Regions from separate parts of the Homo sapiens genome. Here regions 1, 2 and 4 are each linked to region 3. The links are contacts of gene promoters, found by promoter capture Hi-C in blood cells and fetal thymus (Javierre and others, 2016). All regions are on one chromosome and are shown on one strand. Each heading gives the region's core, a stretch centred on a gene start or on the middle of the fragment in contact. The rest is flanking DNA. Distances are from core to core; before and after follow the strand shown.

The links. Contacts are between HindIII fragments. The CHiCAGO score rates a contact against its expected background, and 5 or more counts as called.
Region 1: a fragment that was not itself captured here is called in contact with the fragment with the promoter of USP25 in region 3 in 1 of 17 cell types (total B cells); the score reaches 5.4 in total B cells.
Region 2: a fragment that was not itself captured here is called in contact with the fragment with the promoter of USP25 in region 3 in 1 of 17 cell types (fetal thymus); the score reaches 6.5 in fetal thymus.
Region 4: a contact is called between a fragment that was not itself captured here and the fragment with the promoter of USP25 in region 3, in 1 of 17 cell types (naive CD8 T cells). The highest score is 5.3, in naive CD8 T cells.

Annotation. Positions count from the first base shown.
Region 1 is chr21:14,751,632-14,755,014 of GRCh38, reverse strand. No RefSeq gene overlaps it. Among named protein-coding and RNA genes, the nearest start is that of ASMER1, 170 kb to the left of the region's middle. The HindIII fragment of the contact is 1,053 bases long and covers 1,061-2,113 here.
Region 2 is chr21:14,867,823-14,871,171 of GRCh38, reverse strand. The region is part of intron 1 of ASMER1 (adipocyte associated metabolic related lncRNA 1); the gene reads left to right. Among named protein-coding and RNA genes, the nearest start is that of ASMER1, 49 kb to the left of the region's middle. RefSeq lists an enhancer at 310-359. The HindIII fragment of the contact is 1,804 bases long and covers 690-2,493 here.
Region 3 is chr21:15,727,959-15,731,231 of GRCh38, reverse strand. USP25 (ubiquitin specific peptidase 25) reads right to left here and starts at 1,250. Exons shown (of 26, transcript NM_001283041.3): 1 at 794-1,250. The coding sequence starts at 838. RefSeq lists a silencer at 686-1,645. The HindIII fragment of the contact is 4,884 bases long and covers 1-2,242 here.
Region 4 is chr21:15,004,855-15,008,403 of GRCh38, reverse strand. The region is part of intron 3 of NRIP1 (nuclear receptor interacting protein 1); the gene reads left to right. Among named protein-coding and RNA genes, the nearest start is that of NRIP1, 58 kb to the left of the region's middle. RefSeq lists enhancers at 386-555, 2,450-3,385. The HindIII fragment of the contact is 6,037 bases long and covers 1-3,549 here.

The DNA.
Region 1 (3,383 bases), core at 338-2,837, 980 kb after region 3:
TTTTTCTGGATACAGTATTCGTGACTGGCAGGTTTTTTTTCTGTCAGTGTTTTGATATATCATCCCACTTCTCTTCTGTCTTGGAAGGTTTCTTCTGAGAAATCTGGTGTTAGTCTCTTGTTCATAACAAGTTGCTTTTCTCCTGGTGCTTTCAAAATTGTTTTTCTTTGACTTTTGACAATTTGATTATGATGTTGCTTGGTGTGTATTTCTTTGAATTCATCTTAGTTGGAGCGTGCAGAGTTTCTCAAATCTAGATGTCCATTTCCATCCTTACATTTGGGAAGTTTTCAGCCATTATTTTATTAAGTAATGTTTCTGCCCCATTCTCTCTCTCTTCCCCTTCTGAAACAACAATAATGCAAATATTGGTCCATTTGATGGTGCCTTGTATGTCCCTTAGGTTTTCTTTATTCTTTGTCATTCTTTTTTCATTTTGAGCCTCTAGCAGATAATTTCACATGACTCATATTCAAGTTTGCTGATGTTTTCTTCTGAATATCAAGTCTGCCATTAAACTTCTCTAGTGAGTTTTGCAGTTTATTTTCTTTTTCAGCTCCAAAACTTCTTTTTTATATTTTCTGTATCTTTCTTAATACTTTATTCTGTTCGTTTGTTATTTCTTTGAGCTCAGTGGGCATCTTTATGACAATTATTTTGAATTCTCTTTCAAGTTGTCCACATACCTCTTTGTAGATCCAGTTTCTGGAGATTTAGTTTATTCCTTTGATTGAGCCATGTTTCCTTGTTTTTTCATGCACCTTGTGGCTTTGTATTAGGATCTGTCACTTCTCCCAGTCTTCAGACTGGCTTTGTTTAGATAAGACTCCCACTAAGTAGCCCATAAAGAGATTCTGGAATCCTCTGAAACTTTTTGGGGTATCTGGGCCTGTGCATGCAATTTCTCAGAGAGGCTTACTGTGTTTTTTGTTTCCCCTCAGGAACTCATTATCTTTTCTGATGTCTGTCTGTGCCACCACAAGTTATCTGGTTCTACAGCTGCAAGTTTCCCACTCTCTTTTGTTGTCAGTGGCTGGCAAATATCCAGGGCATGCAAGCTTCCTATCAGTACACTGAGTAAGGTGAGACAGATATCAGTTTCTCAGAAGCTGGTGTTCCAAGAAGCTAGAATGACAGACTCATTTCTCGCTCCTTTCTCCTTCCCTCTTGAAGGAGAAGCCTTGAGTTGTGCATCTTCTCTTGATTTTACTGAGGTATGGTAGCTATAGCAAACTGCCTACTGCCTTTTTTTTTAACTTTTGCTCTCAGTGGCTCCAAGGCATCGAAACTATGCTAGTTCCATGAGTGCTCCAAGTGAGGCAAGACAGAGACTAGTCCCTTGGGCAGCCCTCTGAAGAGCCAGAATGCCAACACATGCTCCACTCTTCTCCCTCCTTGCCAAGGAAGAAGTCTTAACTTGTGCACTTCCTCCCCCAATTGTGCCATGCTGTGCCAACCATATCAAGCCACCTGCTGCTTTCCATTGTCCTCAGTGACCCCCAGACATTCAAATTATGCTAGTTCTGTGGGCACACCAATCAAGGAAGTAAGAGACCTGTTTCTTGGGCAGCTCTCTGAAAAGCTGGAATGTTGGAGGCATGCTCTATTCTTTTCTCCCAGAGGAAAAAGATGTGAAGAGGCATTCTGTCTTGGCACTGAGCTGTGCTAACTTGGGGGAGAGGCTGATGCAGGTAAATGAAATTGCTCTTCTTAACTCAATTCAATTTGACTATTCTGTACTTTGTGCACACTTGGAATACTGCAACATCTTAATTGAAGTCTGGAATTCATATAAAAATGTTTAGTGTGTACATTTGTGAGCAATTCATGTTTCTGTGTGGGAATGAAGGCTGGGACTTCCTATTCAGCCATATATAGTTAATTATGTGGATAACTAACTTTATTCAGATCACTCATGTTATCAAGAAACTATCCATTAACAAAATTCTCACTTGAAAAGTATTTTTCTGGAAAAAATACTTTTTTATTTAGTGTCTAGGTGTACAATCTCTACTTGGTATGGAGGAAGTCTTGTTTACATTGAAATGCGTACTATAAATAGGATATAAGTAGATAAAAGGGGGCTATATCTTGGGCTCTTCACTTGGAAGCTTTAATTTCAGCAATTTGAACAGATCTCTCATTGTTCTGAAACATCCCTCTCCCAGGAGAAGATGGTTGGGTTTAGTGTAGGGGTGAAGACATGTTCAGAAGAGGGAATTTTTACTTAGGGATTGCAGAGTTAAGGTTTTAACAATATATTTCCAACTTTGATGATGCAACATACAATTTTTGTCATTTTAATGGAAGACAATAAATTTTATGTCCAGATATTCAGAGAAGGGAGGAATTGTTATTTTGTTTGTGTGTATTTTCCTCTTTCTCCTTTGCTCCCCTTCTTGCTGGGAGTTCCCATACCCATTTCCTTCATATTGGTCTACTTGTTGCCATCTCTTCCTGTTGAATGCTTTCATGAATTCTATATTTCCCCTTGTAGATTGTCATGCAAGCACTGCTTATTATTTCTTGTTTATCTTTCTTCTCCAGTGACCATTGTGTTTTCCTTTTCTCCTTTATCTGACCCTTCCTTTCTCTTCTTTAGAATAGTTGCTTACTGCTTACAGGAGTGCTTTGAATGCTAATGCTATAATTCAGACACTGATTTTTAAACAGAATCCAAAGATTACATTTGAGGCTGGCCTGACTCAGTATCTGCCATATGCCACTAAAATAGTCTATTGTTTATTACTGTTTTATTGTGTTCTTATACAGTTTTATACTGCTTGGGTGTGATCTGGCACTGTTAGCTTTATCCACTTCAAAATTAACCAAGCCATCTGGAGGAGTATAATTTAGAGGGGGAGCACATGGGTTTGTGAATGCTGACATCTTGATTGTGCTCTGAGGGTGTCTCTTATGTTTCTTCATACTCCAGTTTCACCCAAATAAAGCACAAAAATTAAATCACACATCTACTCGCACTTCCCCACATATACATTTTGCAGGCTTCACTGAAATATCAAGAGAACGAAAACAATAGTCTTTTGAGTTCCTTTAAATCATAACAAGTTTGTGGTATTTAAATATATTCAAGCATGAAGTGATATTAAAACAATGCCTTGATAGTTTTTTCCCAGTATAGTTTCTCATATTTTTTCTCATTTTATTGCCTAAGTATTTTATTTATTTGTTTTCTCCCTCCCTTTCTTCCTCTTTTTTCCTTCCCCTTTCATTCCTTTCCTTTCTTCTCCTCTTCTCTCCTTTCCTGTTCTCTCCTCTCCTTTTTTTTCCTTTTTTCTCCTTTCATCTACAAATTCTTGTGAAGCAAATTGTTAGCCAGAGTCAAAGATTTCAGTGATGAACAAGATAGGCAAGGAGATGTT
Region 2 (3,349 bases), core at 342-2,841, 860 kb after region 3:
GTAACCTCCGTATTTTCTTAAGCCTTTTCCAATCAAATTGTGTCTTTTCTCTTTAATGCTTGTCACTTAGATCTTTATCTCAGTAGGTCATCTCAAAAGTCTTGCATGCTAGAATCCAGAGAAATATAGAGATAAGCATCACCAACATTTATTGATGAAACAACTACTTAATAACCTCCAGAGGTGCTCACGCATACACAGCACATGAAAATAGTCCAGATAGAAAGTTTAAAGGGATTTCACAGTAGAAACCATGGAGATAGTGTGTGCAGTAACCCGTAGTCATTGCTGCCCTCATAGTATCTGATCTGAACCTGGCATAGCTTCAGAAAAAGCCAGGTGTTCAGGCTAAAATGAGAATGAGAAAAAAGGAGAAAGTTGCTTTCTTCTTATGTGAAAAATAGGGAATGAACATTTTATAGTTTGGTAGTAGAACCAGTTGTACGAGTTCTGCACTCGCCCATAGGGCTTAGCCTGAAGGGAGAAAAATATTTGTATTCAAAAATCACTTTAAGACTTATGGGAAGATATCTAAAGTTGGTGTATAGAATAAAGAACTGAGATTACAGTTGTATATCTGATTTGTTGGGACCACGTTTGAAACTTGAACTACTATATTTTAAAAGTTTTTTTTTTGAGTGACAATTTCCAGTTCTGTTTTTGGCATGAGGAAGTGATACAAGAAAGCTTCCTACTCTTGCACTTCTTTGTGTGTTCCCTTATTATTAAGTTTTGCTATTAAGTATTCATTTACAGTGTTCTGCCAGATAATTTATTTTAGATGTCGAGACAAGATCATTTGTTTATTGGATCCAGGTATTCTGCTATTCTTGGTTTGAAGAGGAAGTAGCTTTAAGTAAGAAATTCCCACACATTATTAATATGTATGCCCCTCTAGGTGAGTATGTATGTGTAGGAGAGAGACAGACCCACAGCTAGAGGCAGAGAATGGGACACAGAAAAAGGAGACAAAGAAACCATGGTGTCTCAGGTAATAAAATTACTTGCAAAGTTATTGAATAATGATATTGCATTTGCACATTGTACATTCCCTTTTCTTTCAAGTTTCAGTATCTCTCAACAGTCTAGGTGCTGTATGGCTGCTATTGCAGATGGAACTGGGGGAAACAGAGCAAGAGACAGATGAGGAAAAAAGAAATTATATGTATGTTTGCACGTAGAGTTCATCTCCTTTATTCCTCTCTCCTAGTTCAGTTAGTTGGAAGGATTCTGGTACTGTTTCTTTCATTTAACAACTTATCTGCTTTGACAAAGACAAATCAACTTCGACTTTTTGTGGCCCTTAGGGAAAATATTCTATATCTAGTGGTGAAATGGATTGATTTGATTAAAGCCACTGTGCAATCTCTGCTGAAGAAAGAAAATTATATTTTCCTTCACTGAAGATTGAAGAAGAGAAAACATCTGAATAAATATTTTGTTATATTTGATTTTAAAGAATGCATATGGAGAGGGTATAGAGATTGCCTTTAAACTTCAAGTTTGGAAATAAATACATATACATACATGTTACATATTTATGGTGGGAAATATGAGTAAAGTTAAAAGGACTTAATAACTGAGTGCTTTTATCAACAAATTAAAGTTTTCATTACACTTAATCAAATTTTTGTGAACTGCAGCAAAGTGTTTTTTTTCACCCCTACCCTCCCTCCCTCTCTGTCCCTCCCTCCCTTCCTTCATTTCTTCCTTTCTTTTCCTTCCTTCTTTTGAGGAGCTAAAATAAGTTTTTTTTTTCCTTAGCATTTTATCTTAAAAGTCTGGCTATGTAGTGACAGCTGGCTTAAAAAGATACCCTCACATCCTCTTCCACAAGAACCTCTCTGATATTTCAAGTCAATCCTGTGCAGAAGTTTTGAAGTTCTAAAACAATCACAAAGTTTTATTGTTTCTCAAGATTCTCCAGGACTATGAGAACTTAGGTATTCAAGAAAGGCATTTGAAAGGAACAAGAAGTACAAGTATTAGCTTTGTTCCATTCAAGTTAGGGTAGCTGCATTGCTACTATTTTCTTCCCGGTAAAACATGCTTCTCTACGTTTTTTCCTATCCCCTAGTCCCCAGCATTGTGGACTGCGAAATTATGTGACCATCCTATCCACAAGCAGTGCAGATTTTTGTTAAGAAAACAGAGGAACATGTCATTGACTTCTTATTAACGAAAGGAGGCCGTTGTCAAAATAAGAGACAATCTGAGAAAGAAGGGGAAATTCAGCCTGTTGCCACATCACTCAAGGCACGGCTGTACTTGGCATAAAAATTAAAGGGAAATGAGTTGAAAATGAAGACTTGTTACATTCTCTTTTGTAGTCAATTCTTCTTTCAGCCTCTCCCAGGAAGGAGAATGTGTTTTTTCCAAACAAGGAGCAGCAGGGGTTATCTTTTTTTGGACAAGCTAAAATCTGTCTCCTTGTCAAAGGAGACAGATCAGGTCAAAGAGGACTCTGCCTCCCAGAAACAGAGTGCAGAAGCTTAAATTCTGGTTCATGACAAGAACAAAGGGTTCTTGAGGAGGAAGCAAAATGCCGTCTCACTTGCTGGGCCACAAATTGCAGCACTGATTTAAAAATTATACACATGGCTTTTTTGAGCCATGCCAAAACCCTTTTCTCATTTTAGTGTCACTACTGGTTAGTTTGTTTGTTATGTGTGACATCTTTTTTTTTCCTCTAAGAACCATGAAACTATGCAAAGAATAGAAAGATCACAATATGGTCTTGTGGATGTCACTGCTTGAAAAGCAAAAATGCTAGTGAATTAACCATGGTTAGCAGGGATTAAGAAGAGTAAACAGTCTGAAGCAGAATGAATGTGATTGCAAGTGTTTTCAAAGGCCTTTCCTCCCCCAACTTTTTTTTTTTGAGAAGGAGTCTGGGTTTTGTCACCCAGGCTGGAGTGCAATGGCGTGATCTCAGCTCACTGCAACCTCTGCCTCCCGGATTCAAGTGATTCTCCTGCCTCAGCCTCCCGAGTAGCTGGGATTACAGGCACTTGCCACCACGCCTGGCTAATTTTTTTGGATTTTTAGTAGAGACGGGGTTTCACCATGTTGGCCAGGTTGGTCTCGAACTCCTGATCTCAGGTAATCAGCTCACCTCAGCCTCCAAAAGTGCTCGGATTACAGGCATAACCACCGTGCCTGGCCAACATTTTATTTAAAAAAAATCAAAGCTACAGAAATTGCAAGCATAGTAAAATAAGCAGTCATATGCCCTTCGTGTAGCTCTATGCTGATAGGATAGCCACTATCCACATGTGGTTAGCAGCCGCTTGAAAAGTGCTAGTCCAAATTGAAATGTGATATTCTACGTTTCTTTCTAAAATATAAC
Region 3 (3,273 bases), core at 1-2,500:
AGATTCTGAAAGCAAAATCTAAAATAGCAGAATGATCTCTATTCACTTTAAAGATATAAAGTTTCACAAACAGTTTTTTAATTGTTTTCTTTAGTGAGTGACCATTTGAATGTGTGACTGATGCAAGAGTAAAGGGTGAACGAAAGAACAAGGTCAAACTTAGGGGACAAAAGATTCCTGGAATAACATGGCCAGAAAGGTTTCCTCTCTTAGGGACAGTTTCTATATTGAAAAAAAAAAAAAAAAAAAAAAAAACAGAAAAGAAGAAGAAGAAAGGGAAACCTTAAAAGGAAAAGAAACCAAGCAAACCACCTACTTCTAGAGTCCACCTGGTCAACACGCCTGCCCCGCGAGGCAGGTAATTCGATTTTGGTGGAGACCGTTTTGCAAAATAGCAGGCCTGGTACACTACTACCTTTGAAAGACAAAATCGGTTCAGAAAGGATGACAACTAGCTATTCTTTCTCATTTAAGGGGAGAGAATAAAGTTTCATTAAGATGCCACACAGAGCACTGTAGGAATGTGAGGGTCGCTCTCAATACCTGGCACCGTCTGCTACGGGAAAACAATCGGCAGAAGGAAGTGGATTGAAGCCCGCAAACTACACTCTGCTTCCCACACGCAGCTGGGCTCTGGGCGCGACGCCCCCGAGGCGATGGGCAGGGGCCGGGGGTGACCGGGGAGGAAGCCCGGGAAGGCGGCGGCGGCGAGGCCGGGGCGCCCGGCCGCAGCGGGAGAGGACAGCCCGTCGGAAGGAGAAGTGGGGCCCGCCGGCTGGCGGACTCGCCTCACCTTCTGCGCCGCGCTCTGCTGCAGCACGTTCTGCTCCACGGTCATGGCCCCCGCGGCGGCGGCGGCGGCGGCGGCGGTGGCGCCCGGCTCCTCGCGCCTCCGCCGGCCCTGGCTGCCGCGCTCCGCCGAGCTCCAGGGAGCGGCGCGGACGGCCTGGGAGGACAGCGCCCCCGCCAGCCAGGCGCGAAGGCGATGGCGGCCGGCGTGCGCGGGCACCGCGGGCAGGCGGCGAAACGCCGACTGTGAGGGCCACGGCGGCCGCCTCACGTCTCCACGCGGCCCGCCTCAGCGCCGCTCGTCCGCGGCGGCCCGGGCCATGAGCGGGCGGAGGACGCCGGGGCACGGGAGAGCGCGAGCCAGTCGGGCGGCGTCACGCGTTCGCACGTTCCTTTGCTGCCGGTCCGCGGGCTGCTTTGGGGAAGGGAGAGAGGGGACGGAGGGAGCGGCCGCCCGGAATGGCGTTGTCCTCCTCCCTCCGCGAGTCCTCCTCCCTCCCCTCCCCCACGCGCCATCCCCGCCCCCGCCCGGCGGCTCCTCCCCCGCAGAGCCCCGCCCGCCGGCCGCCCTAACCCTACATTGTGACCCTCCGGGCGGCGGGGCGGGGCCGCCATGGAGCCCCGCCCCTCCCTGCGCGGGCCTGGCGTTCCCGGGTGGGGCGAGGGCGCGCCTGGCTGCCTGGCCCGGGAGCCGCCCCTGCGGCAGGTTGCGCGACGCTGGCGCTGGGCTTCGGGGAGCGCGACTGGAGGCCGGAGGGCAGCGTTCCTCCCTGCGCCCAGGGCTTGTCGGATCCCTAGCTTACCCAAAGCCTCCAAAGCAAACATTTCCCTCCATGCCCATAACGTCCCAAAACTGCGTAGGGTCCCGAACTCCGGCCCCTTTCTGTGTCACGCGTTCTCTCCCCTCGCCTTTCTAGGAATTTCACAAGCCTTGAACTTGCCTGAAGGGAAAAGTCAAATAAGCAAAGGGTTGCCAGAAATCTTTATGCTGGGAAGTACTTTTCTCCTTAACTAATCATTACGTAAATGAATATAGACATTTTCTATCTACCTTCATTCATTCGAATATGTGTCAGTCACTGCTAGGCTCTGGAAAAATAAAGTTTATCTTCCCAAGACTTAATATAAATGAAATAGGATCTATCTAGCAAACAACCTTACAAAAATATCACTGCCTAATGATACATAATTCTAATATCCCAGTTGCCAAATTAAGCAAACAATTAACTACCATGCATGGAATGCTTGACTATATATGGAATTGTAAGGAAAATCTAACATTAAGAAAGCAATCTCTAGCCACAAAAATATCTCGAGTTCCAGGAGCTAATCTGGGAACGGAGGTGAGAGTGCAGCAGTGTGAGGAGAGAAATTATCAATGCATATTGTCACAAATAGAATACACTTGAAAATCCGGGTATAATTTTTAATCCAATGACAAGGAAAGCAAGCTTGGCAAATGCTAATTGAAATAGTATGTGGTGTTATTTAATAATCATGGATTATAGTAGCTCTTAAGGCTTTGTAACAGTTCTGTGCACTTTACAACCATCTTTGTTCTGCAGCTCAGATGTCTGGTACCACCTGTTGTCACCTTTTCCTTGAAGCTTCATATTTGTTGACTCATTTGATATTTAACAAATTGCAAATCTTATTATATTAATATCCTATGTCTTTTCTAGAGGAAATGAAAAGTCATGAAACGGTTGGAAACAGAAATTTAGAAATACTGTCACATCTCTAATCTCACGTATCGATTTTTTTATAACTCTGAAGCCCAAGGAGGGTGACCTGTCAAAGAGAGCTTATCAAAACCCATTTTTCTTCATTTATAGATCAAAGTTTCTTCTTTTCTTGTTTATATGCTAACTTCATGTTTCTCCATATGAGGGTTTTGGTTTTTTGGTTTGTTTGTTTGTTTTTTAGAAATCAAGCTCATACATTTGAATTCAAGAAAATTAAATTTAACATAAAAATCTAGTAATCTAGTACCATGGGAGGAAAAATGTTGCCAGATACTAAGGTTTAATTTCAAGAATTTGGCAATACAACTTTTCTCTGAGTTAAATTTGTTACTTCCATACAGAAAAAAAAAGATGATCTTACAATAGATAATCATCAAATAGAGCTTTTATATGGTAGACCTATTTGCCCACTGAGACTGTTCATTTTCAGCTTACTTCTGAGGGTTTCCTACTTACTCAGCATTTCTTTAAATATTTTTAACTGTTGTACTGAAGAACATTGAGAAGAAAATTTCAAGTTTCCTCATAGGCATTCCTTTTTAGAAGGCTTACAATTGGGATGAATAATTAGAGAAATTTGAGCAATTGAGATAAATTGGCACACAAAACCCATCGCTGGGATTTCCTAACTCATTTTTTAAATTTGCGCCGTGACAATTGTGTTGTATGAGTCAGCTTTAATATGCATGTGTGTCGGAATTATATATCCTCAAGATATTATTTAATAACTTCTAAACTG
Region 4 (3,549 bases), core at 570-3,069, 720 kb after region 3:
CTTCTACGGTGATTCGCCCAACTCTAGAGGTTTGGTCGTTTAAAAAAGTTTCACAAAATGAAGTTGATGTGTTATTTTGCAGGATTGAGTAGGCTTCCCCTCAAGTCTTTCCTTCTCTCCTTTGTGTGACCTTCCCCTCCACTTGCCTCAACCTGATCCCTGATGCTGGCGGTCCTTTTCTGAGAGTACAGTCTGCTCTCTGGCAGATATTTACTTGGCCCTGGTGACTCCTGTTCTGTTTTACTCCCTACTCTCTTACCTTGGCTGATACTCTGTTAAATTCTTTCTGAGGTCTCAGCGGGACAGTCAGTCTCTAGAGTATCTGACGACGCTCTTCAAATTACATTGGTGCTGGGTCTTCCCTGAGGGTTCTGGGAATGCGTTGTGTACCTTTCAGCTGGATCGGAATACCAAGATGGCTGCTAGTTCCGACACTTGATTTACTGACAGCTTCATACTGTTTTTACTCGTAGTGTTTTTATTGTGTGATGATGTCATGCAAGCTGGAATTTGAGGACTTGATATCATTATGAGTGATCATCTAAAAACATGAAGCTGATAGAATGTTGGGTAGTTTTTATTTTTTAATTCTGTGTCCTAAACGTAGTCGGGACTCAAGAAATGTTTGCTGAGTTAATTTTTTTTCTCATTAGCGTTGGATAGAACTCTTAGCTCCAAGAACCACATTATAATTTAAGTCGGACATCTCTGTCTTATAGCCAAGGGAAATACGCTCTCACACTGTTCTGAAAAGGTACATGTCACTGTCTTAGCAAAACCCTTACCTAATACTTAATGAAGGTTGATAGTTCAAAGTACAAAATTCAGACTTCAAACAGGATCTGATTCTGCCTCTTTAAAGCACCCCTGTAAGAATTACTACTTTTTTGAAACTTTGTAGAAATCATTTTTTTAGCACAGTGTTTATCAAACCTAGGCTTGAGATATAGTAATTATTTTTATCGTTTTTATCTTTGATTCAATAAAGTTGCTATGAAATAACACCCTATCTTATAGCACTGTTTATGTTAAACAAATTGGTTTTTAAATATTCAAAGCAGCCTTCATTGTTTCCAGAGCTGTCTTTTTCTTCAACTCTCCTGCCTTTGCCTTATTTTGACCATGGCAGTGCACTAACTGATCTACAGTTTCTTCTTCCCTCCAAGCTATCAACAACTCCCATAGCTTCTGGTTTTGTTTTTCTAATATGCTTTTAATAATACCATTGCTTGTAAGGAAACCCACCAGATAAAGGCCAGCTTCTTGGCATGGCCTTGATTCAAAGTCCTTGGTCCCAGTTGCATTTCCAGCCTAATCTCCACTCCCATTGGACTACCACACTTCCTGTGTCACACTCAGCTCTTCCTTGCCTTTGAGTGCTATTTCTGGACCCTAGAATGGCTGCCATTCTCTTCTGCCTGGCTAGCCCTTACTCATTTTTTAACCATCACTGACTACCACCTGCATGTGTACATATGAACTAAAAACCTGGTTACAGCCTATCTGTGTTCCTAGAGCACTTTTTACATATTTCAGTCATTGCATTTAGCACAGTATATACTCTCTCTCCTTTGGCACAGAGACTAAGGAAGAAAATCACCGGCACTGTGCACTCTCGGGTCTTATTTACTCACTAGGTGTTATTACTCTGTCCTTTTCCTGTCCTGTTCAGGAAAACATACCTGAATCCAAGTGAGTGAAAGTGTGGTTATCACCCAAGTTATCTTGAATTTATTTAGTCTGTTTTTTTAAAAGGGAATAATTTGCAACCTCTTAGACCTTATTAAATTCTGTACTTAACACTAAATACTTACACTAAATACTCTTTAGAACTAATCATGACATACCTTATATCTGATGATGACAAACCAGCATGTTATAGATGGAGACACACTGATTTTAGCATATATTGTGATTTAAGCATTACAGCTGTTTGTTCCACCAGACTATTTATTTCTTGAAAGCCAGGACTATTTTATTCACCTTTTTCCTTTTGTTGTTCTAGAGTAATGATTTAAACATTTGCCTACTTTAGCTACTAAATTAAATTTTGAGAGCATTGCCAGGGAAGAATCAAACACCCTCTACTGGCATTAATACTTTCTCTTTTGGCCCATGCACTGGTAATGCTAAAACATCAAATGTCATGCTGATGTTTTTATAACAAGACCGAGATTGCTTTACCTTGTTTTACTTGTGTTACTCACTATTCTAATGATTTTTTTTTTCCGTCTTAAGAATGTATTCATCATGTTGGGAATAAGAAATTTAGTAAACATGCTATAATGTAATTTTCCTTACCTGTAATTTTAGTAAGCTATATGCAGTATGCGTGAAGTTTGTGACTTAACCAACTAAAACCATGTATTTTTTTTTAAAAATGAAAATTCTAGAGATAAATATTGATGGAAATATTTTTTAGTCTTAACCTGTGACTGTGCTACAAATCTGAAAGATACAAATAGAGCTTTAAGTTTTACATTCACTACACTGAAATATAGTCAAGAAAGAATTCGACCTGAATTCTTTAATAAGCACAATGGAAGGGTTGTTTACTTTTGAGAACTAATAACTGCCCCATTCTTTGTGATTGTCTGCTTACATAATTTGTTATAAAAGAATGCTTCTAGGTAAACCCTCTCTCCAGAATGCTGGTGGTTTGTTCTATTCTGCTTGGGAAGGGTTAAGAGGAGACAACATCCTGTCAAAGACCTTGTTTTTAATTTTGCTTCTCACACTGGCACAGATCCTGCTAAGAGCAGCCCAGATTAGTTCGGAAAACCTTTGAAGAGATTTAAGATGTCCTTCAGCCAGTTTGAAGGTTTTTGTCTTGCAAATCCAGTACAAGGGCGCCTGCAGGCATCTCGACCCTTGCTGTGCTGCTGATGCAGCTCAAGGTCACACTAACCCGCCCTGTGACATTCAACAACAACAAAAAAATTATGCGGTGAAACTGCCTCAGCGTTCAACCAACCAACAACTTCCTTTAGTGAGGAACTGAGGAAGAAGACTTTTTTACCCCCCTTTTTCTTCTTTGGGGGGCTCTGTGAATTTTTGCTGTAGGAAATAATCCCGGATTTCTGGTGTGTGTGATGACAAGGTCATCTCTTAATTAGAACACATGTAAAGAACAAAGCTAAATGGCTTCAAAACAGCTTTGTAGTTGATGGAGAGGATTTAAATTATTTAAAGAGATAGTCACCCATGTATGATGGAAGCTGAATTCTAAAGGCATTAACTCCTTCATTCCTATCTATTTGTCATTGCTTTGAATTCCTTATGTCTGACTTTAGAGGGTTGCATTCTAAACTTAAGAGAATTTATAAATGCCCAGTTTTTAAATGATGAAATATAATTTATAAATCAAATTCTCAGATAAACTTTTCATGGAGAAGTTTTCTCCCCATGACATCTATCTCCTAGAAACATTATCACATGGCTGGACTTAGGAACTAGGAGTTACACACTTTTCCCTCTGGCAACTGTGATTTATTTATAATGTGTTGGAGGTGGGTGAGTAAAGTGCTTCTTTATTGCCTCACCTTCTCT